Linked DNA regions of Homo sapiens: regions 2, 3, 4, 5, 6 and 7 are each linked to region 1. Evidence: promoter capture Hi-C in 16 types of primary human blood cells and fetal thymus (Javierre and others, 2016). All regions are on one chromosome and are shown on one strand. Each heading gives the region's core, a stretch centred on a gene start or on the middle of the fragment in contact. The rest is flanking DNA. Distances are from core to core; before and after follow the strand shown.

The links. The method cuts DNA at HindIII sites, captures the fragments that hold promoters and counts their contacts. A CHiCAGO score of 5 or more calls a contact.
Region 2: a contact is called between a fragment that was not itself captured here and the fragment with the promoter of TMPRSS11D in region 1, in 1 of 17 cell types (monocytes). The highest score is 5.0, in monocytes.
Region 3: a contact is called between a fragment that was not itself captured here and the fragment with the promoter of TMPRSS11D in region 1, in 1 of 17 cell types (neutrophils). The highest score is 6.5, in neutrophils.
Region 4: a contact is called between a fragment that was not itself captured here and the fragment with the promoter of TMPRSS11D in region 1, in 4 of 17 cell types (M0 macrophages, monocytes, M2 macrophages and 1 more). The highest score is 7.4, in M0 macrophages.
Region 5: a contact is called between a fragment that was not itself captured here and the fragment with the promoter of TMPRSS11D in region 1, in 1 of 17 cell types (M2 macrophages). The highest score is 5.1, in M2 macrophages.
Region 6: the fragment with the promoter of STAP1 here is called in contact with the fragment with the promoter of TMPRSS11D in region 1 in 8 of 17 cell types (naive CD8 T cells, erythroblasts, naive CD4 T cells and 5 more); the score reaches 8.6 in naive CD8 T cells.
Region 7: a fragment that was not itself captured here is called in contact with the fragment with the promoter of TMPRSS11D in region 1 in 2 of 17 cell types (monocytes and M2 macrophages); the score reaches 5.4 in monocytes.

Annotation. Positions count from the first base shown.
Region 1 is chr4:67,882,553-67,885,420 of GRCh38, reverse strand. TMPRSS11D (transmembrane serine protease 11D) reads left to right here and starts at 1,419. Exons shown (of 10, transcript NM_004262.3): 1 at 1,419-1,495. The coding sequence starts at 1,488. The HindIII fragment of the contact is 7,558 bases long and covers 1-1,570 here.
Region 2 is chr4:68,387,021-68,389,888 of GRCh38, reverse strand. No RefSeq gene overlaps it. Among named protein-coding and RNA genes, the nearest start is that of YTHDC1, 38 kb to the right of the region's middle. RefSeq lists enhancers at 1-448, 449-1,005. The HindIII fragment of the contact is 8,883 bases long and covers 1-2,868 here.
Region 3 is chr4:68,356,349-68,359,216 of GRCh38, reverse strand. No RefSeq gene overlaps it. Among named protein-coding and RNA genes, the nearest start is that of YTHDC1, 7.7 kb to the right of the region's middle. The HindIII fragment of the contact is 9,491 bases long and covers 1-2,868 here.
Region 4 is chr4:68,339,987-68,342,854 of GRCh38, reverse strand. The region is part of intron 1 of YTHDC1 (YTH N6-methyladenosine RNA binding protein C1); the gene reads left to right. Among named protein-coding and RNA genes, the nearest start is that of YTHDC1, 8.7 kb to the left of the region's middle. The HindIII fragment of the contact is 1,993 bases long and covers 396-2,388 here.
Region 5 is chr4:67,538,643-67,541,510 of GRCh38, reverse strand. CENPC (centromere protein C) reads left to right here. Exons shown (of 19, transcript NM_001812.4): 3 at 461-531; 4 at 1,577-1,671. Among named protein-coding and RNA genes, the nearest start is that of CENPC, 5.4 kb to the left of the region's middle. The HindIII fragment of the contact is 6,752 bases long and covers 1-2,868 here.
Region 6 is chr4:67,557,323-67,560,190 of GRCh38, reverse strand. STAP1 (signal transducing adaptor family member 1) reads right to left here and starts at 1,464. Exons shown (of 9, transcript NM_012108.4): 1 at 1,262-1,464. The coding sequence starts at 1,381. The HindIII fragment of the contact is 12,125 bases long and covers 1-2,868 here.
Region 7 is chr4:68,186,011-68,188,878 of GRCh38, reverse strand. It overlaps the pseudogene FTLP10 and the pseudogene TMPRSS11BNL. Among named protein-coding and RNA genes, the nearest start is that of TMPRSS11F, 58 kb to the right of the region's middle. The HindIII fragment of the contact is 5,254 bases long and covers 1-2,868 here.

The DNA of each region.
Region 1 (2,868 bases), core at 170-2,669:
GAATCTTGGTACCATATTTGTGTTTTAAATTATATAAAAATACAAAGTTATAAATATATAGCTACTAAAAATAAAAATTAGTAATAGCGATATATTTGTGAAATAATATTAAGTATAAAAAGCATAATACAAAATTATATACCATGATATAACTATATTTAAAGGTACTTGAAGTTAACATGTAAAATTTAAAAATGGTTTGTTTAGGTAACTTTATTTTTTAAACTTTTAAATCTTATTATAGTTATTTATTTATTGCTAAAAAATCAATGGCAGAATGTCAGGCATGAGATACTGTATGTAAAAAATATATTTCCCAAATATATTTGGGAAAAAACATATAAGTAACCACTTATTCCTGTCTCTGTTGTTTGATTTGCACATTATATAGAAAAAGTCAAGTAACTGAACACATCTGAAGTTGCAGTATTGGAGTAAATTTAACCATTAGTTGTCAGTGCTTTACAAGATGAAGTCATAGAATTTTATAATTGAGAGTCCTCTAAGACCTCCTGATTCAGCTTCCACTTTTCTTAGTAGATACATGTGACTTATGGAGAAATAAGTAAATTTTTTCCCTTAAGCTACACAATTAGTTGGTGAAAAAGCTAAGACTAGAATTCATATTGTACTACTAATAATATTGTAATAATTCTATTACAAGTTCCAATTCTTTAGCATTCATTAGTTCTCACAAAGTAACCCCAGTATAACCTTCCAAATTTATATCCTGCTTCTTTGCAATGTTAGACAGGAATGCCCTTTTTCCCCTCCCTGCTAGTCTTGCCTGTTTTCTTGAGCTCTCCATCCTTACCCTAACACCCTACACACTCATACTGTCTTCTTCTGTCTGCTCCTCTTCTAGTAGTAGTGTGTTAGAATAGCTTTTTCAAATGATCATATTTGGAAAAAAACAAAGTGGATTTTAGTTCCAACTATTCTGTTTGCTTGTCTTACTTTGTGCATCTACTCAATTATGCTCTGTTTCATATATTATGAGAAAAACTGCATTTAATCATACAGATGAGGGAATTCAGAGGTAGTGCCCATTAATGTACGGAAAGTATGTTCTGATGGATCTTGGCTGGCTGTGTTGAGGAATGAGGTGTATAACAATATGATAACATGAGCAAAATAAGTGTCAAATCCTCTTGAACTAAAAGTGACTCTACAGTTGTGAAGTAGTCACAGGCTTTCACAAAATACCTGTCAATTGTAATTGTGTTTAATCTCAATTTACCAGAATAAATAAATTTCTTACTAATTTGTGAAATTCCCTGTCTATTTCCAATTATCTTCCACAAGTCATACTATTGGTTTGTTGATTCCCTCAAACTTGTTTAACAAGTTAGATTTTAATTAACATGAGATTTCCTCCTTTGTCCTCAACTATAGATCACACGTAATACATGAGAGTCATTCATTTGAGTGGGAATCTCAAAGCAGTTGAGTAGGCAGAAAAAAGAACCTCTTCATTAAGGATTAAAATGTATAGGTAAGTCCTGTTTTTGTCTTTGTAGCTTTAAAAGTTTTACTATATCTTACAGTATGGGAAAAATATAAAGAAGCTTAGCAAATTTTGACTGTGTCTAGCAATCTTCTAGTTACTTCTCTGAAAACTTCATCGAAACTCTTAGATATTGTTTAGATAATATGCTTGATATTATTTTCATAAGGTACATAGTTGCTTAACTGAATTTTTTATAAAACAACCACAAAAATACTTAGCTTAGCGTTATGACAACATATCTTTAAATAAGGAAGTGGTTTTGTTTCTCATGTGCAACATTTCGAAAAGTGGTGTGTGGATTTTAAAATTGCAATCAGTAAACAATTCTTGTGTTGTTTGGAACTTTTCGAGGATTCTGTGTTTTGACTTCCATTACAGTTTTATTGCTAGCTATTAAATAAATATGCCATAAATCCTAAAGTACACTTTTAGAAAGTAAAGACGGTATTTTTCTACTTTTTATATAGTTGTAGAATTATTTTCAAGAAAGTTCTTGCTAACATTTAAGAGAAAATAATCTCTCTCTGGTTTTCTTTTTAGTTAATGAATAAGTATTTTCCTATACTTTCACATAAAGAAAGAAAAAAGTTGTGAGATAATCAAGTCACACGTTAACATCTCAAAACAATGAAATAATTATGTAACTTGGTATGTTTATGTGTGCACTTAAGTGTATATATTATGCATATTATTTTTCTATGACTACAGGAAAACATGATACTGATAAGTCATGCTGAAAGGATCAACAAAAGCATGAACAATGTGTTAGCTATAATAAGTGCAGCTGAATTTATTTTAAATCTCCTGAACATTGGAAAATTCAATCAAAAGTCAAACCATTTTAAGTAATAAAAATATATATACAGTTATATGCACTTGAATATATATATATGAGTGAAAAGTGGATAGCTGTCTAAGCTTCCAATGATAGAAGAAATAAAATCATTTCATATTCATGTAATAGATACAAGAAATGTATTAAAGTAGCTTAAAAACCTATGAAGTAATTTACATACTGAGTTTGTTCTTATTTTATGTGAAAAAAACAAATCACAAAATTGTATTTACTCATCAACTACTACTTTGTAAAGCTATACATGGGAGAAAGTCTAATAAAGAACATAGAACATTAATCAGGTTTGTTATACTAAAGCAGTGAGTTTATGAATTATATTTTTTATTGTTCTTAAACCATCTATAAGTGTAATATTATTTGGGTAATATAGTGCATTTTAAAATGTATTTTGCTGAAATATTTTAATTTTAAAGAAATTACTCTGATTTTAAAATATTGCCCTTATAAGCAGTCAAGTGTATATCAAAACATCATTCAATGGAAAATAATAAAAGAAGACATG
Region 2 (2,868 bases), core at 242-2,741, 500 kb before region 1:
AGGCAGATAGAGAGGAAAAGGGGTCCTTGGGAAGTTTTCGTTTTTAAAGCAGCTCTTAGAGCCAGGCTGGCAACCTTTGATATGCAAATGCCATCCATTAGAAACTGGGTCCACCCAAACATGGCTATTCCCACTGCCATCTTGACCTTGCCCCACACTTCCTGGCAACATGGCCGCCCCCACATATCCCCACGTGGGTAGAACATCATGGTGCCCTGCATTGGCATATTAAAAGGCTAGGGTGGGAGGGCAGGCTTTTTCCTGGGCTATATGAATGACATGCTTTGTCAAACCAATCCCCTGAGCCCTATACAAATCAGACACTGCCTCCTCCAGCCTCTGTATATATACCTGGCTGGTATCCCTGCCAGATGGGGTTCCCTCTCTCGGCTTTGGAGCCCCCCTCCCTCTGTCTCTGTACAGGAGAGCCTCTTCCTTCTGCCTTCTCTTTTCTTTCTTGCCTATTAAACTTTCCGCTCCTTAAAACCACTCCACGTGTGTCAGTGTCGTTTTATCTAAACCAGCATGAGGACGTAGAACTTGGTGTTCCTCCACTCATCGGCGCTGTATCATCATCATGACAACGTTCAAACATTTTAACAATGTGCATATTAATGACTGGTCACCTGCATAATTCCCCTAGAAATCTGCCTACTAATCTCACCACTCACAGAAGCAGTTGTGAAACTGTTGATGTGTGTAGTTATTTCTAAAAAGCCCCAAGACAGATATTAATTATAGTATAAGGGTGGGTGGATGCATATAATTTGGGATTTTAAACTCAGAGATACTTATCTAAAAACTCCATGACAACGAAACTTTGTCAGTGATGCTTTCACACATGCAAGGAAGATTCAGCTACCTGGAGAATGGAGGGTGTAGTCACCCCAAAAATAAGCTGGGTTATGCTTTGATTGCAAAGGCCTGGGGCAAATGCTAAAAAAAAATTGTTCCTCTTCGGCTTTCTTTTCTTTGTTTTTAGTGTTGTAAATGCTGAGCAGCCTCATTCACAGTAGTCAGAAAATTTGATCTTTGGCATTGAAATTGAAATAGCAGTTTCTCATTTTCAGGAAGCAAAGAATCTCATTTATCCAAGGGAGAGGCAGTCACTTTTCTGTGGACTGGTAAATCCCTTCCATGTTTACCTGGGAAAGACCTCTTGGAAGTTGTACTTTTGTAGCTAAAATTGTCAGTTTGAAAATATGATGTGACTTAGAAATCTTTTCCCCTGCTATTACAGTAGTGTCATTGACTCGTTTCTAAGAAACTATCATGAAACTCTTATCTGAGGAGCCATTACTTTTTATTACTAAGTTGGGCAGGTTTTAAAACTAGCGACATGGAGCGACAATGTCTGAAATGTAAGTCAGTCATCTTTATTGTTCTAAATAAGGGTTTAAAGCATATAACTATTATAATATGTGATCTAACAAAATGGAAGGAGGGAAAGACGAGAGAGAGAGAGAGAATGGCTTTGTGGAACAAATTGTGAGCATTAAGCTAGATATAATAGAGCTGCTAATCAGATCTAGCTCTTCATATGAGATTTCCACAGGCATAAATACTAATTGGGATGGAGTCATCTACTAAATAATGAGTTCATGCTAAAGGAGTCATCCAGACCATCCTTCTTACAGACTTTAAAGACTGACAATTTCTAAAGTCCCTCAAATATGTTTTAATATTCATCTCTCGGCCGGGCACGGTGGTTCATGACTGTAATCCCAGCACTTAGGGAGGCCGAGGCGGGTGGATCACCTGAGGTCAGGAGTTCGAGACCAGCCTGGCCAACATGGTAAAACCCCGTCTCTACTAAAAACACAAAAATTAGCCAGGCATGGTGGTGGGTGCCTGTAATTCCAGCTACTTGGGAGGCTGAGGCAGGAGAATCGCTTGAATCCTGGAGGCAGAGGTTGCAGTGAGCCGGGATCATGCCATTCCATTCCAGCCTGGGCAACAAGACTGAAACTTGGTCTCAAAAAACAAAACAAAACAAATATTCATCTCTCCTCCTTGCTTTGCAAATTGCAGCTCTCTGAGGTTCTTCTCTACTCTGCAGACTAAATTAGCCACTTCCTTCTCTTTGTCTGCAGAATACCTTATAGATTCCTCTTTTGTAATCATAGCTAATACATATAATGCTTATTCTATGCCTCTATGCCAGCCATTGTTCTAGGTTCTTTTTTTTTTTTTTTTTTTTTTGAGATGGAGTCTCTCTCTGCTGCCCAGGCTAGAGTGCAGTGGCACAGTCTCGACTCACTGCAACCTCTGCCTCCTGTGTTCAAACTATTCTCCTGCCTTAGCCTCTCGAGGAGTGGGGATTACAGGCATGTGCCACCACCCCCAGCTAGTTTTTGTATTTTTAGTAGAGATGGGGTTTCGCCATGTTGGCCTGACTGGTCTGGAACTCCTGACCTCAGGAGATCCACCCACCTTGGCCTCCTAAAGTGCTGGGATTACAGTCGTGAGCCACTGTGCCCGGCCCGTTCTAGGTTGTTTACATAGATTAACTCATTTAAACTTCAAGTAATTCCAGGGAAGTTTCTGTTACTATCCTCATTGAGGCACACAGATTTTACATAACTTTTCAAAGGTTACCCATCCAGGCCAGGCACAGTGGCTCACTCCTGTAATCCCAATACTTTGGGAAGCCAAGATGGGAGGATTGCTTGAGCCCAGGAGTTCAAGACCAGCCTGGGCAACATAGTGATACCCACAAAAAATTTAAAAATTAGCCAGGCGTGGTGGTGCACGCCTGTGGTCCCAGCTACTTGGAAGGCTGGGGTAGAGGATTACTTTAGCCCAGGAGGTCAAGGCTGCAGTGACCTGTGATTCTGCCACTGCATTCCAGCCTGGACAACAGAGTGA
Region 3 (2,868 bases), core at 241-2,740, 470 kb before region 1:
GGTGAGGGCTCCCTTCCTGGCTTACAGACAGCTGCTTTGTCCTCACATGGCCCTTCCTTGGTGCCTGAATGAGAAGAGAAAGCAAGCTCTCTGGTGTCTCTTTTAATAAGTACATTAACCCAACTGGATCAGGACCACACCCTTATGAACTCATTTAAGTTTAATAACCTCCTTAAGGTCTTATTTTCGAATATAGTCATATTGGGGAATAGGGCTTCAACATATGAATTTGGGGGTGGATGGGAGTTCATTCCATAGCACTACCCTGGGCCTGGATGGGCAAGTGGAAGGCAGAGTTACTAGAGCCCAGATAGAATAGATGTATAGATAGGGTTGAAAAGGAATTGAGGTCATAGATAGAGAGACAGAGCTACCCTATGTTAACCCTACATAGAGGGAGCCATGAAAATAAATAGTTCAAAACCCTTACTTTCTTCCTATCTTCAAATGCCTGAACTCAACCAAAACTGAGAGAAGATAAACGATTATTGTGTAGTCCCTATGAATGAGATTCTTAAGGAATAGAGCAAGGTGGAAAATTGATCAGGGTGGCCACAGATATCCAGCACACCCTGTATCAAGATGCCACCAAGAAGCCGGCGTGATGGCTCACAACTGTAATCCCACCACCTTGGGAGGCCGAGGTAGGCGGATCACTTAAGGCCAGGAGTTTGAGACCAGCCTGGCCAACATAGTGAAACCCCATCTCTACTAAAACAACAAAAAATTAGCCAGGCATGGTGCCGCGCACCTGTAATCTCAGCTACTTGGGAGGATGAGGCAGAAGAATGCTTGAACCCAGGAGGAGGAGATTGTAGTGAGCCGATATCATGCCACTGCACTCCAGCCTAGACAACAGAGCGAGACCCTGTCTCAACAACAACAACAACAACAACAACAAAAAGACTAAATGTTTACTCAGAAGAAACTTTGTTCCTAATAAAGATAACAAGTCAGGCGCTGTGGCTCATGCCTGTAATTCCAGCACTTTGGGAGGCTGAGGTGGGCAGATCACTTGAGGTCAGGAGTTCGAGACCAGCCTGGCCAACATGGCAAAAACCCATCTTTACTAAAAATACAAAAATTAGCCAGGCATGGTGGTGCTTGCCTATAGTCCTAGCTACTCGGGAGGCTGAGGAAGGAGAATCGCTTGAACCCAGGAAACAGAGGTTGCAGTGAGCCAAGATCGCACCACTGCACTCCAGCCTGGGCCACATAGGGCATACTCTGTCTCAAAAAAAAAAAAAAAATCCCTTATAAGACTGTGATAAGAATTAAGTGAGGTAAAATATAGGCAGCACACAGAGCAGATTGGGCACAGTCAGTACTCAGAAAATGTCAGCTACCGATATTACTCAAAAGTAAGCAGAACAACTTCAGAATTCCAGAATTCTATAAATATCTCAGGAATAATTAACCATGTTTTCCAAAAAAGGGCCTTGTAAAATGTTATCTTTTTTTGGAAGTACTTATATTTTGATAGTCTATTTCCTGTTATGAAACTCAATAAACCAATATAATTGCTATTAAAGGATTCAAGGCTGCATTCTGTGGTACATGTAAAAGCTAAATGAAAATTTAACATTGACATCCTACTGTGGAAGAAAAGGCTTAGGTACCTGGTCTTAAATCTGAAGATTAATACATTTCCAAATTTAAGAATACCCAGTGATATTTAAATATTCCTTTTATTTATTTTTCAATTAAAAATATAATTGGTGTTATTGTAATTAAATCACAAGCTGTTTCAGAATGTTAAATAAGATAATATATGTCAAAAAGAAGTTATAAGTAAATGTATTGGTAAAATGTTAGTTATTTTAAAACTACAACATATGCTAAATTTCACAGGCAGGAACTTGGCACAACACAAATGACTCTGCTGCATTACACTGTTAAAGAAAATCACAGTTGAATAGTAGCTAGAGCAGAAAAAACAAATTTTATTTAGTAAATATTGCAATGTAGGAAAATAAACCTCAGTATGGAATTGGGCTCAATTCTGAATACAGCATGAACAAGGGGAGATTTATAGCAAATGAACAGGGTTGGGGGTCAGTGGATTGAAAATTACTAAGAGGAAACATTAGGGGTGTCTTTGTCCATTTTGTGCTGCTGTAACAGAATACCTGAGACTGGGTAATTTATTTATTTATTTATTTATTTATTTATTTTTTTTTGAGACGGAGTCTTGCTCTGTATGCCCAGGCTGGAGTGCAATGGCGCAATCTCGGCTCACTGAAATCTCCGCTTCCCGGGTTCAAGCGATTCTCCTGTCTCAGCCTCCTGAGTAGCTGGGATTACAGGCATGAACCACCACGCTTGGCTAATTTTGTATTTTTAGTAGAGACGGGGTTTCTCCATGTTGATAAGGCTGGTCTTGAACTCCTGATCTCAAGTGATCCACCCACCTTGGCCTCCCAAAGTGCTGGGATTACAGGCGTGAGCCACCATGCCTGGCCCAAGAGACTGGGTCATTTATAATGAACAGAAATTTATTGGTTCATAGTTCAGAAAGCTGAGAAGTTCAATGTCAAGGTGCTGACATCTGGTAAGAGCCTTCTTGCAGCATCATTCCATGGTGGAAGGCAAAAAGGCCAACAGAGGGTTGAAGTCTCCTTTTTATAATATCAGTCCCACTTATGAGGGTGGAGCCTTTATTGCCTAATCACCTCTTAAGGGTCTCACTTCTTAATACTGTTACAATGGCAATTAAATTTCAACATGATTTTGGAGGGGACAAACATCCAAATCATAGCAAGGGGTAAGAGGAGATTCTTGCTAAACTGATTTGATAGTATTCTTTCTAAAGGCAGGTTAGGGTGATCAGATATCATCTGGGGGAAGGTAGAGAATAATGAATTTGAT
Region 4 (2,868 bases), core at 143-2,642, 460 kb before region 1:
GATAATTATTTCTTTTCAAAAAGGATATGCCAGTGATGATTATAGTCTTTAACAGCAGTAGCTTGTGAGAGTATTAAAATGTTTCTTCTTTTATAATTCATTCTACGTTAAAAAAATGAATTAAAATGTATGCAAAGTGTACTTTTTCAAGTCAGTGAAGAATATGGCCAGAAGCAGCAGTTTACATTAGCTTTATAACTTAATACTATAAGCTTTAACATTGACCTATTTAAATGAATTTTTGTTATTAAAAATGCACCTCAAGTATATAATTAAAATATTTACCCTTAAATAAAACTATAGTAATTTTGGAAACATCTGTCATGTATTATGTATGACACTTCTGTCAACAGTGATTGGAATATGTGTCCCCTCTGTTTGAAGCTAGGTAAGCTTTTGTGATGAATAAATACTGTGATGGTGTTGCTGGATTTCTACCTGTTCCCGTCTCTGTTGGGACACGAGAGTCCTAAACTACCATGTAAAAGATCTGCCTACTCGGTGGTTGCCATAGTAATGAGTAATCACACACACAGAAATGTTGGAGAAGCTCCAGCTTTGAATCTTCCCAGCCTAGACATCAACGAGACTTGTCAATGAACAAGCCTTCAGATGATTTCAGCCCCAGCCCCAGCCCCATTTGACTGCAGCCACATGGGAGACCCCGGTTGAGCCCTGGAACCATGAGCCATAATGAAAGGTGTTACCATTTTAAGTCAAGTTTTAGGGTGATCATCTTATACAGCAGTAGATAATCAGAACATGTATGCATATACCATACCTGTTTTGTTGAAGAAGGAATTTTGTTTTGTGTTCTGGACCAGATTTTATATATATCACATAGCCCAGTCATTAGCAAGAGGGTTGGGGCAGGCAGGTTTTATTAAAGTCCAATAGTTATAAGGAAGGAGAGTCTTCTTACAGGTTGAAAAACTCATAGAAGATTCAAATGTCCTGCTTTTCCTTTCCCCAAAACTGACCTTTTTTAAGTGCCTCTTATCAGAGGTGAAGAATCTTGAACTCAGAAAGACTGGGAATTTCCTGATACCTAAATGCAAGCTATAACCTGCATTTCCTTAACCTCCAAGACTTTTCCCCTTGTATATTATATTCCAGTGTATATATAAGGAGTTTCAGTGATGGAGAAAAGTACTTAAAATTTGGTCATTTGTATTATATCAGGGGTTGGCAAAACTCTTTGTAAAGGGCCAAATAGACTTTGTGGGCTGTAAGTGTTCTCTGACATATTCTTTGCTTTTTTTTTTTTCTTGTTAATAAGCGCCTTAAAAACGTAAAAACCATTCTTGCAGGCCATTCTAAATAGGCAATGGGCCATGTTTATCCTGTAGGTTTTAGTTTGCCAGTTTGTGGTAAAACCACACAGTTTATTGATGTTATGGACTATAATACGGATAAAAGTGTGTACATCATTTAAGTGAGGGTGTTATAGTTGATTTTGAATATTTCAGTAGATTTTAAATGTTGTAATGTTAAAGATATAGAGCTTTCTGGTGCACTAATTTGAAATTTATGTTCTAGTATATATGCCCTTTTAATATTTTGCATTTGTGTTCTTTATACTTTGGTTAAAGTTGCTTTTATTGTTCCCCATCTGATTTAACTGTCAATTTCTAAAGCCGGAACTTCATACTAATATCCATTTGTTACTAGACAAGTGTATTTGGTCAACTGGAACATTTGAGCTTCTCTTTCTTTATCTGCAAAGTAATGAATGATTAAACATGCTCTATTTTATATGATTTGTATATATGATATATTTTAAAAGTGATAAAATTTTAAAAGTGACAAAGTATTTTTAAAAAGTAGTAAGCATTGGTTAATATTTGTTGTCTTGAAAAAGGTTGTAGGTGCTTTCTAAAACTACAACCAGTATCTGAATTTGAATTCGTTAAAACTTTAAAACAGTAATACCCCTTTTTATAGGAAAACCAGGCTTTAAGTGTGTTTGAAACTTAAATTTATTTAAATTAACATTCTGCAAAATTATTTCATTCTGTATTAAATTTAGCATGTCTAAAGTATATAATATAAATGTTCAGGGTTCGGGGATGATATTTCTGAATAAGATCTAGTGATTTTATGAAAAGATTTGTATAGCATTATTTGCCTGTTTCATTGTGATAGTCTTGAAATTTTTTCTTTTTGTCTTCTACAAATGTATTTGATTCTGTGAAGACCTGTTGGATCTACTTTTTTACTGATTAGTGAGCTTTGACCCAGTACTTATTAAACATCTGTAAAACATTGATTTACTTCTATCAGACTATTTTTTTTATAATTTAGAGTCCGAAAATGGTGTTTGCCACCATTCAGATCTTGAAGAAATTTTTCTTAGCAAAAACATGAATCTAGATGATGAGAGAAGCTTTTTTGTTTGACATATCTTGATTTTAAATAAGATTTTTTAAAAGTAAACAAAAATAAAAACCCATATAGCCTGTTTTCATTTTAGAAAAATGATAGAAAGTACATATCAGCATTGGTACCACCCAAAATGATCAATTTTGCTATTCCAGACATAGTAATTTTCAGATATCTTTAGATTGTGTCTGTTTCCAAATGTAAAGGAAAATGATATCTTTTCCATTTCCTATGTAACCTTATCGTTTGTATTAACTATTCTCTTCAGTCACAGATTTCTTTCCCACTTTGGGGAAAATTTGAATCCCATTTAACCTGTTTATAGCCCCCAGGTTAATTAATAGACCTTTCTGTAATTCATGTGGGCTTTGTTTTTTTCCTGAAGCCACAAATGTAATTGTTCTGTCTCATCAGTTTTCATGGCTTTATACTTCCTCTTTGGCACACCTTAAATTTGGAAAGATGTTTTTGATATTGGAATAGTTA
Region 5 (2,868 bases), core at 247-2,746, 340 kb after region 1:
TATAATTTTTAATTAAAATTTATACTGATTCATAAACTGTTAAGATTAATCAATGATACTGAATTAGAAATGCATTTGAGAATTTATAGGGAGGAATATGTTACTTGGAGATGTGACTGTAAAGTCTGTTAAAGAAGCATTTCAGGACTGATTGGATTCATTCAAAAAAATTTGTGTTTTTGAGATACAGCAGTAATCTAAAACAGCTTTAGACATGGCTGTTCAACTAAGAAATATTAATTGTTAAGGTAGATTATGATATACTAATTCTTATTAGGAAGGAAAGAGTTCACTTGAGGGAATGTATAGACCCTCAAGTACTTGTTTTGTCTTCAAATAGTAAAGATATTTTACATATTAAGTAAATTTATATTTTATAATGAGATGTGGAATTTTCAAAGAGATGGTAATATAAAGAAATATCTTCTGAAAATGACAGGCTGTATTTTTCCTTTATTAGGGCACGTGACATTAACACAGAGCAAGGCCAGAATGTTCTGGAAATCTTACAAGACTGTTTTGAAGAAAAAAGTAAGGCTTCATTTCAAGATGGAATTTAAGGGTTAGATGGATGAAAATATGAATTTGTCATGGTAATTAATATCAAATGCAGCAAATATGTTCTAGGGTTTAAATATATGGAAAATATTTTCCCTGGTATTTTGAGTTCATATGCAATCCTTTGTGTACCTTCTGGTATACTTAGGATAATACTGACAAAAAATAATAATTTGACAATAATTTGTCATCCCGTTTAGTTCACATTAAATTACTGTAATCTGGAAGTCCATACATAATTATCATACACAAGAAAAAGTATTTTATTATTTATTTATTTATTGAGACATAGTCCTGCGGTGTCACCCAAGCTGTAGTACAGTGGTGCTATCTCAACTCACTGCAACCTTTGCCTCCCAGGTTCAAGTGATTCTTGTGCCTCAGCCTTCCAAGTAGCTGGGATTACAGGTGTGTGCCACCACGCCTGGCTAATTTTTGTATTTTTTAGTAGAGACCAGGTTTCACCATGTTGGCTAGTCTGGTCTCGAACTCCTGCCCTCCAGTGATCTGCCCTCTTCAGCCTCCCAAAGTGTTGGGATTACAGGCATAAGCCACTGCATCTAGCCAGAAAAAATATATAATGAAAATAGATGTGTAGAATTCTTGGAATCGCTGGAGAATTTGAGATAATCTTTGGTGATTTACATATCTGTTTAAGGAAGTCATAAATTACAGCAAAAACTTTTCCAAGTGCTGATTAGCATCAGCAGGTATTGGAATAAGAGAATAAGCCAGCCAAAGAAATAGGGGCAGATGATAGAAAAGAATGTTTTCTATACAAGCTCTGAAAGAAGAGCTGGCATATATTGATACTTCAGGTGTTTTGTTTGCTTTTCTCATTTCCTGATGCTTCTCAGGAACATTTGAATATTAAATTGAGGTCTCTACTTGATTTAAGCTAATTGTGGTCAGTGAGTCAACAGATGGTTCTTCACATGTCATATACAGCTACTTTTAATTGTGACTAATAGATATTACACTATATCTTGTTTTTGAAAATTTCATACTTTTGTTTTAGGTCTTGCCAATGATTTTAGTACAAATTCTACAAAATCAGTGCCTAATTCAACACGCAAAATAAAAGACACTTGTATTCAGTCACCAAGCAAAGAGGTAAGTGATAAAGAAGAGCTGGTATAGGTTTAATATTTTAATGAATGAAGGTATACACAATATACTCATGTATATTTTAGTTGTTTGTAAGTCTTATTCTTGAAAGGGAATTCTATATTCCCATTGACTTTCTATAAAATTTGGAGGTATTTTGTGAAAAGTTTTATTTGATATTTTCTGTTGGAATTGGGATTATGGGAATTAGAATTATCAAATTATAATAAACATTTTTCACTTCTCCTAAAATAATACTCAAATTAGGTTTTTAGGAAAATGGGCAGTGATCAAAGTTGCTAATCAGGTTGGCAGGGTTGGTTATATTCTAATAAATGAAGGCACTTCATTGTTATACGGGGAAATCAATCTTCTGTTGATTATATATTTTAATTGCTGTTAGTTTGATCAGAAATAAAGTATTGGTTGACTTAACTATACTAAGTAGCAGACTTTCAAATAAAGTATTTGAAGCTAATCTAAGGCAAATTATTCAAAAGCACAATACTAATTAGAAAAATCATATAGTGCTAGAAGTAACACTTACTAGAAAACTGTAAAAGGCAATCAACATATTAAACATATGTAGCCTTTTGGTTCCAAGCAATGCAGACAAAACCATTTCTTTCAGAATTGAGAGGCCTTCTGAAACTTGATAAATTACAATGGTTTTTGAAAGTTAAAGCAACTTTAGGTTTTCTGGGATAAACTTGACTTGGTCATAAAGTATTAACTTTTTTTGATTAGGTTTGCCTAATATTGAAGATGTTTGCATCTATGTTTATGAATAATATTGTCTTTTTTTGAAAAATGTTCTTACAGGGCTTTGGTATCAAGGTTATGCTAGAGGTTCCTCTTCTAGGTAGAATGCAGTAAGTCACAGAAGGCTAACACTCCTGCTAAAGCAGCTATTTTAAAAAATGGAAACAAATTTTAGATATATGAGAAGCTGTGGAAACAATAAAGACTAGCAAAATATAGTCTGTGGCTAATTTTCTTCCCTTCTGAGGCAAAATTCTTCTCTACTGTGTCCCGTTACTTATGGAGGTTTTCCACTCTGGCTGGTAGATTATTCTAGGTCCTTTGTAACTGGGAGGATATTCCCCCTCAAGGCTTCGGGTGGTTCTTTCTCTGGTTTTCTTACAACGCATTCTCTGATCAATATTTGATTGAATGCTTGAGAGAGATCTGCACATTCTGCAG
Region 6 (2,868 bases), core at 215-2,714, 330 kb after region 1:
GACATGTCTTCTTTAAGCATTTAAAAAAAACTGCTATCATAAACAGTTATTATAAATACCTTGGAAAACATTCAATGAACAACCTGATTTAAATTACTAATTAGAATTTTTTTTTCTCAACTTCCCTTTCCTGGCAAAGTGTGACTATGTGGCTTACCTGTGGTGACAAGATTGAATTTACATTAAAAGCATATAGGATCAATCTAAAAAATTCTAATATAACTGAAAGGTAATTATTTATGCATGTTTAACATCCATAACAGAATACAAATTACCATGTCTTTACTCTCAAATAGTAAATGATCTGATTATATATGTAAGAAATGTGAATATGCTATTATAGATTTTTCATATATATAATTTTTCCACAAGTATTCATAAATCCTCAGAAAATATATTTTAGCATCATTAAACATTTCTGATGGAATTTCTGAAAACCTTAAAATTTTTCTAGTTTTAGTCAGTATACAATTTCATAAAATTTGACCTAACTTAATGATTTTTTTATTTAATAACAGGCAATTTTGGGCTTATTTCTCTAATTAATTTCAAGTCATCCATAATTACTGTTTTAAAAGTAATGATTTTAACTAACTATAAGTTTTAATTATTACATTTAAAAATACAGAATGCTTCATGGATTTTCTTAGAGCAAAGGTATTTATGTAGCTTAGTGTACTTAATACCCACAGTAGTACCCCAAAAATTAAAAGTCACTATCTTGAATAGTATTTTAGAACACATAACTATATATAATGTTAAACAGTATGAACTTTGTCATTTTAACAATTTTTACAAAAGCCATTTTTAATAATTTGATCATTATAAACTTCAAATGACTCAGAACAGGAGCAGGTTTAATTTTAATCATGATATCATTTTATCTTAATGGTACATGTCATCATTGAAGCATAGCAATAAATTGTGGAGAAAATACAAGAAACATTTTATCTCCCAAGCCAAAATCTTTTGTGATATTTAAATAAATTCTTTGGAAATTTAGCTTATTGACTTTTTTATATTAGTGCCTTAATATTACAACCTCTGTTATTATACATATTATATATGTGTATACATACAGGTTTAAGCCAGACATTGTATTTAAATTATGAAAAATTGGAATCATTTTTCTGAGCTCAAAGAAGAGAAGATGATTTAATTTCAACAGAAACAAGGAGGTCTTAACACATCACATCACCATGAAATAAATATTAAATTAAAACAGAAGTCTTAGGTTTAACATTATCATCTATAGACTCACCCGGTATCCTGACCGCTTGATTAATAAAAAACCTTCAAAGTACAAAGGTAGAGCAGTAATCTTTAACCTTTCCTGGAAGATCCTGCGAGGGGCTGGTTTTGGGGGCTTCTTAGCCATCATACCCCTCTCTTTGGTGTGTGGTTTGGTTTCTCGTCTCAAACAAAATGAAATCTTCCTTCTGTGAGAGGAAAAGGCAACTGTTCAAAGAGGAAGTCCCAAATTGCTTTTTAACCACCAACACTACCACCAACAGGACACACACACACACAGACGCACACACACACACACACACTTTTTTTTCCATTACTTTTTGTGAGGTAAGAAAGAACAGGTGTAGACTGACTTTCAGAGGGCAATCTCTGGGTAATCCACATGTGCTTAGATTTAAAGCGCAAAATAAACAGAAGATTAACATCACCAGAAGATGAAAGAAACAGGTGTAGAGATTGTGAACTTTAGGGGAGATATCAAGAACACAGTTATTCTTTCTATCTTTGTTTTTGTTTATTGGTGTCCATTTTTATTTGCAGAAGACATGACTTGAATAAACTCAGCTTCATTAAAAATTACTTCATAGAATAATTTTATTAGTACTACTTCTGTTGGTTAAATATTTTAGGGTCAAGTTTTGTGTAAATAAAAAAAATAGTTGTATCTCATGCTCATTTGATGCTTCACTAAATATAAACCACAATTATGGGAACACGGAATATGGAATTTTTTTCTTTTTTCTTTCTTTCTTTTTTTTTTTTTTTTGCCAGTAGATATTCCAAGTACATGAGTTCCCAATGAATATTTAGTGCTATGTTTTGAATGTGTCCTCCAAAACTTATGTGTTAGAAACTTAATCCCCAATGCAACAGTGTTTAGAAATGGGACTTTTAGAAGGTGATTAAGTCATGAGGCCTCTGCCCTCATGAATGAATGAATTAATTAATGCTGTGGGAGTGGGTTTCTTTCTCTTTTTTCAGAGGCAGGGTCTTGCTCTGTTGCCCAGGCTGGAATACACTGGTGCAATCACAGCTCACTGCAGCCTTGACCTCTCAGGCTCAAACAATCCTCACACATCAGCCTCCTAAGTAGCTGGGACTACAAGGCACGCGCCACCACTCCTAGCTAACTTTTTCATTTTTTGTATAGACAGTATCTCCCTATGTTGCCCAGGTTGGTCTCAAACTCTTGGGCTCAAGCGATTCTCCTGCTGTGGCCTCCCAAAGTGCTGGGATTACATGTGTGAGCCATTGCACCTGGCCTGGAAGTGGGTTTTTTATAAAATCAAGTTTGGCACTTTCTCACATGCTATCATCCTCTCTTGCTCTTCTATCTTCTGCCATGGAATGATGCTGCATGAAGGTCCTCATCAGATGCTGGCCATGTTCTTTGACTTCCAGACTCCAGAACCATGAGCGAAATACATTTCTGTTCATTATAAATTACCAGTCTGTGGCATTCTGTTACAGCAACACAAAGGAGTCTAAGATATTTGGCAAAAAAATATCTGGCAGAGAAAGCTGTAAGTTTTCAAACTTTTATTTTGTTCTTTTGTGCTTTCTGAGCTGCAGACCATTGATACTATGATTCATGGATGGACTTCCCACAGTTATCTA
Region 7 (2,868 bases), core at 218-2,717, 300 kb before region 1:
CCTCAGGTGATCTGCCCGCCTTGGCCTCCCAATGTGTTGGGATTACAGGCGTGAGCCACCACTCCCGGCCTCCCTTTTTTTAGATTTGTGTAACTGCTTGTCCTCTATATTGAATAATACAGCTGCATGCATACTGTCACCAAGCAAATATAAGAGGATGGATGGTCCTGTGCTTAACCTAAAGGTACTCCACAAACCCACAAAAGAGCAGAAGAAACCAAGCTATGAAAGATCAGACAAAGAGGAAGAAAATGCTGTTTTCAGCAACATATGAAAACTTTATGTTGTTTCCAGTCCTGATAACAACAGAGTGACAGCACATATATGGCTGGTATTCAAGGGTCCAAGATCAATGAAAGAAAACACAAGAAAAAGAATTGAAAGTATCTTACATCAGATGCTGAAGAACCACTCAGGATCCTTGACTACAGATCTGAATTCTCTGAGGCTTATGGGTAAGCTCATGATGGGAGTGGTGTTACTTTCATCATTTTATCCCTAGCATATATCACAAATATCAGACACAAAACTGATCTTCAATATTTTCAAATGAATGTCACTTTTATATCAGAGCAATTATTTGTATTCTTCACTATTAAAAACACAATCAAATCACAATAATACCAAACCTTTTACTTGATTCAGGGGTGAGGGCAGGCTGCTTTTCATTCAAAAGCAGATATTGATACTTTAAACAGTCCTTATAAGTACTGATGTGTCTTGCTAATCTTTTAAAAATCTCCTATAACTTTCAAAAACAGCAGTGGACCCACCATTATAAGACAGGTCACTTTTTAAAAGTTATCTTTTTGTATACTGACAGGAATTAGGTTCACTTGTAGGGAATTCCTCTTCTTCTAAGAAAAGACACTCACAGTTTTCCACTTTAGATGATGTAGAATACAATTCTAATCAAATAAGAAAGAAGTCTCTCCTGCGGAGCCATGAAGATGGTACCTCCATATCATACATTCATGTATAGTAAAAGAACAATTCCAATAAACCAGTGTTCTCTCCTTTGTATTAACACTTTATTTTGAAATTTCAAATTATTTACGGACTCTTCTGCCCTGCTTGACCTATCGTCTTAATCCATCGCCCCAAGGTCAGAGGTGCTAGGTTTTAAATTTACTATGAATTTTTTGTTCTATTTCAGAAATCAGTAAGGTCAGTGCTGCAAAAATTATCAACAACCGTAAGTTCAGATACTTTTTAATTAAATTTATGAGGTGATCTAAAGCACAGCAATCATGATTTGTTACTATTGGTTAGGAACAGTTCTAAGTGTTTTACATATACAGTAATTCATTTAATATTTGTAACCATCCTACAGATGGTTATGATTATGATTCCATTTTTGAGATGGGGAAACTGAAGCACAAAGAAGTGAAATGATTGCCCAAATTCATCCAGCTTGTAAATGGCGAGGCCAGAATTCAAACTCAGGGAGTCTGGTTGCAGAGCATGGACTTAACCATAACTTTATCTGCCTTCCACAGCTCACACATTCTCCAAGTGCTGGTGTCTTGGAGACAGTATGTTGGGTATGCAAGCAATCCACTGGCTGCTAGTGATTCCTGTACAGATTACACTGTACCTATCAGCACAAGATATTGTCAGATATAACCACACAAAGCCAACTCAGCTCACTCTCTGCTTTGTAATCAAATGTTATTTTCCTATTTTTAATGAAGCAAAACTGACTTTTTCTGACAGGCTGTGGGAGACGAGCAAGGATGCCACCTACATTTGATAGAGTCAGGGGAGGTTCCATTGATCAGGAAGGAGAATGACCATGACAAGCAAGCCTTAAAATGAGTGGGCAACACTACTGTGGGGCATCATTGATCAGTGAAAGACACTTGGTGACTGCAGCTCACTGTTTTAAAGTGTTAAGTTCATTATGTTGCCCAAAGCTACAGAAACCAAAGGCTTTGGAGGAAGTTCCAGTTTGCACCTGTTATCCCTGTTTAAATATTAGCAGCACTCCCTTTCATTCTCAAAAGTGTCCCGGTTTGGAAGAAAAATTATATGGTAAGCCTATCTAAGACTTTCCTAACTTTTCAGTAAAAATGGGAAGAGTCATTCATTCTGGACAGTGCATTTTTTCTTCACATGATACTCACCTCTCATCACTTTATAATACAGACATCCTAAACTACTTGTAGTTGCTGAAACACATTCTATTTCATATGTACCTTCCTCTCTGCACATGCCTGCCCCCATCTCCTTGCCTTTTAGGCAAATGCGACTTAGTCCATAGTCTTATCCAAAATGCTATTTTCCCTAAGAAATCTTCCATTCCTTTAAGAATACAGATTTAAGTCTTCCTATTTTGTAGTCCCACTAATTATATACACCACTATTTAACCTATTATAACTGCTAGTGTTTACACCTACCTTTCACCAGATTTAAACTTTTCGATGGCATGGCCATTTATTTTTATTCTATTCCCCCATTGCCTTACATGGTGTATGGTGTAGGAACTCAAGATTTTTTCAAATGAGTTAAAAATCAGATTATATCATTGCTAATGGACTATAGAGCAAGGAAATATTCATGCCAAGAAAAGAGTACAGTAGATGCAGAATGTATCTCTATTATCTTGAAATAAGTACAAAATACATGATTTTTATTTCTTTAGGACAAAAAATCCAAAAAACTATACTGTCAGCTTTGGCACGAAAGTAACTCTTCCCTATATGCAACATGATGTTCAACAAATTATTATTCATGAAGACTACATCCAGGATGAACATCATGATGATATCGCACTTATACTGCTCACTAAAAAAGTTTTATTTAAGAATGATGTACATCGAGTTTGTCTTCCTGAAGCCACACAGATTTTTCCACCTGGTGAAGGA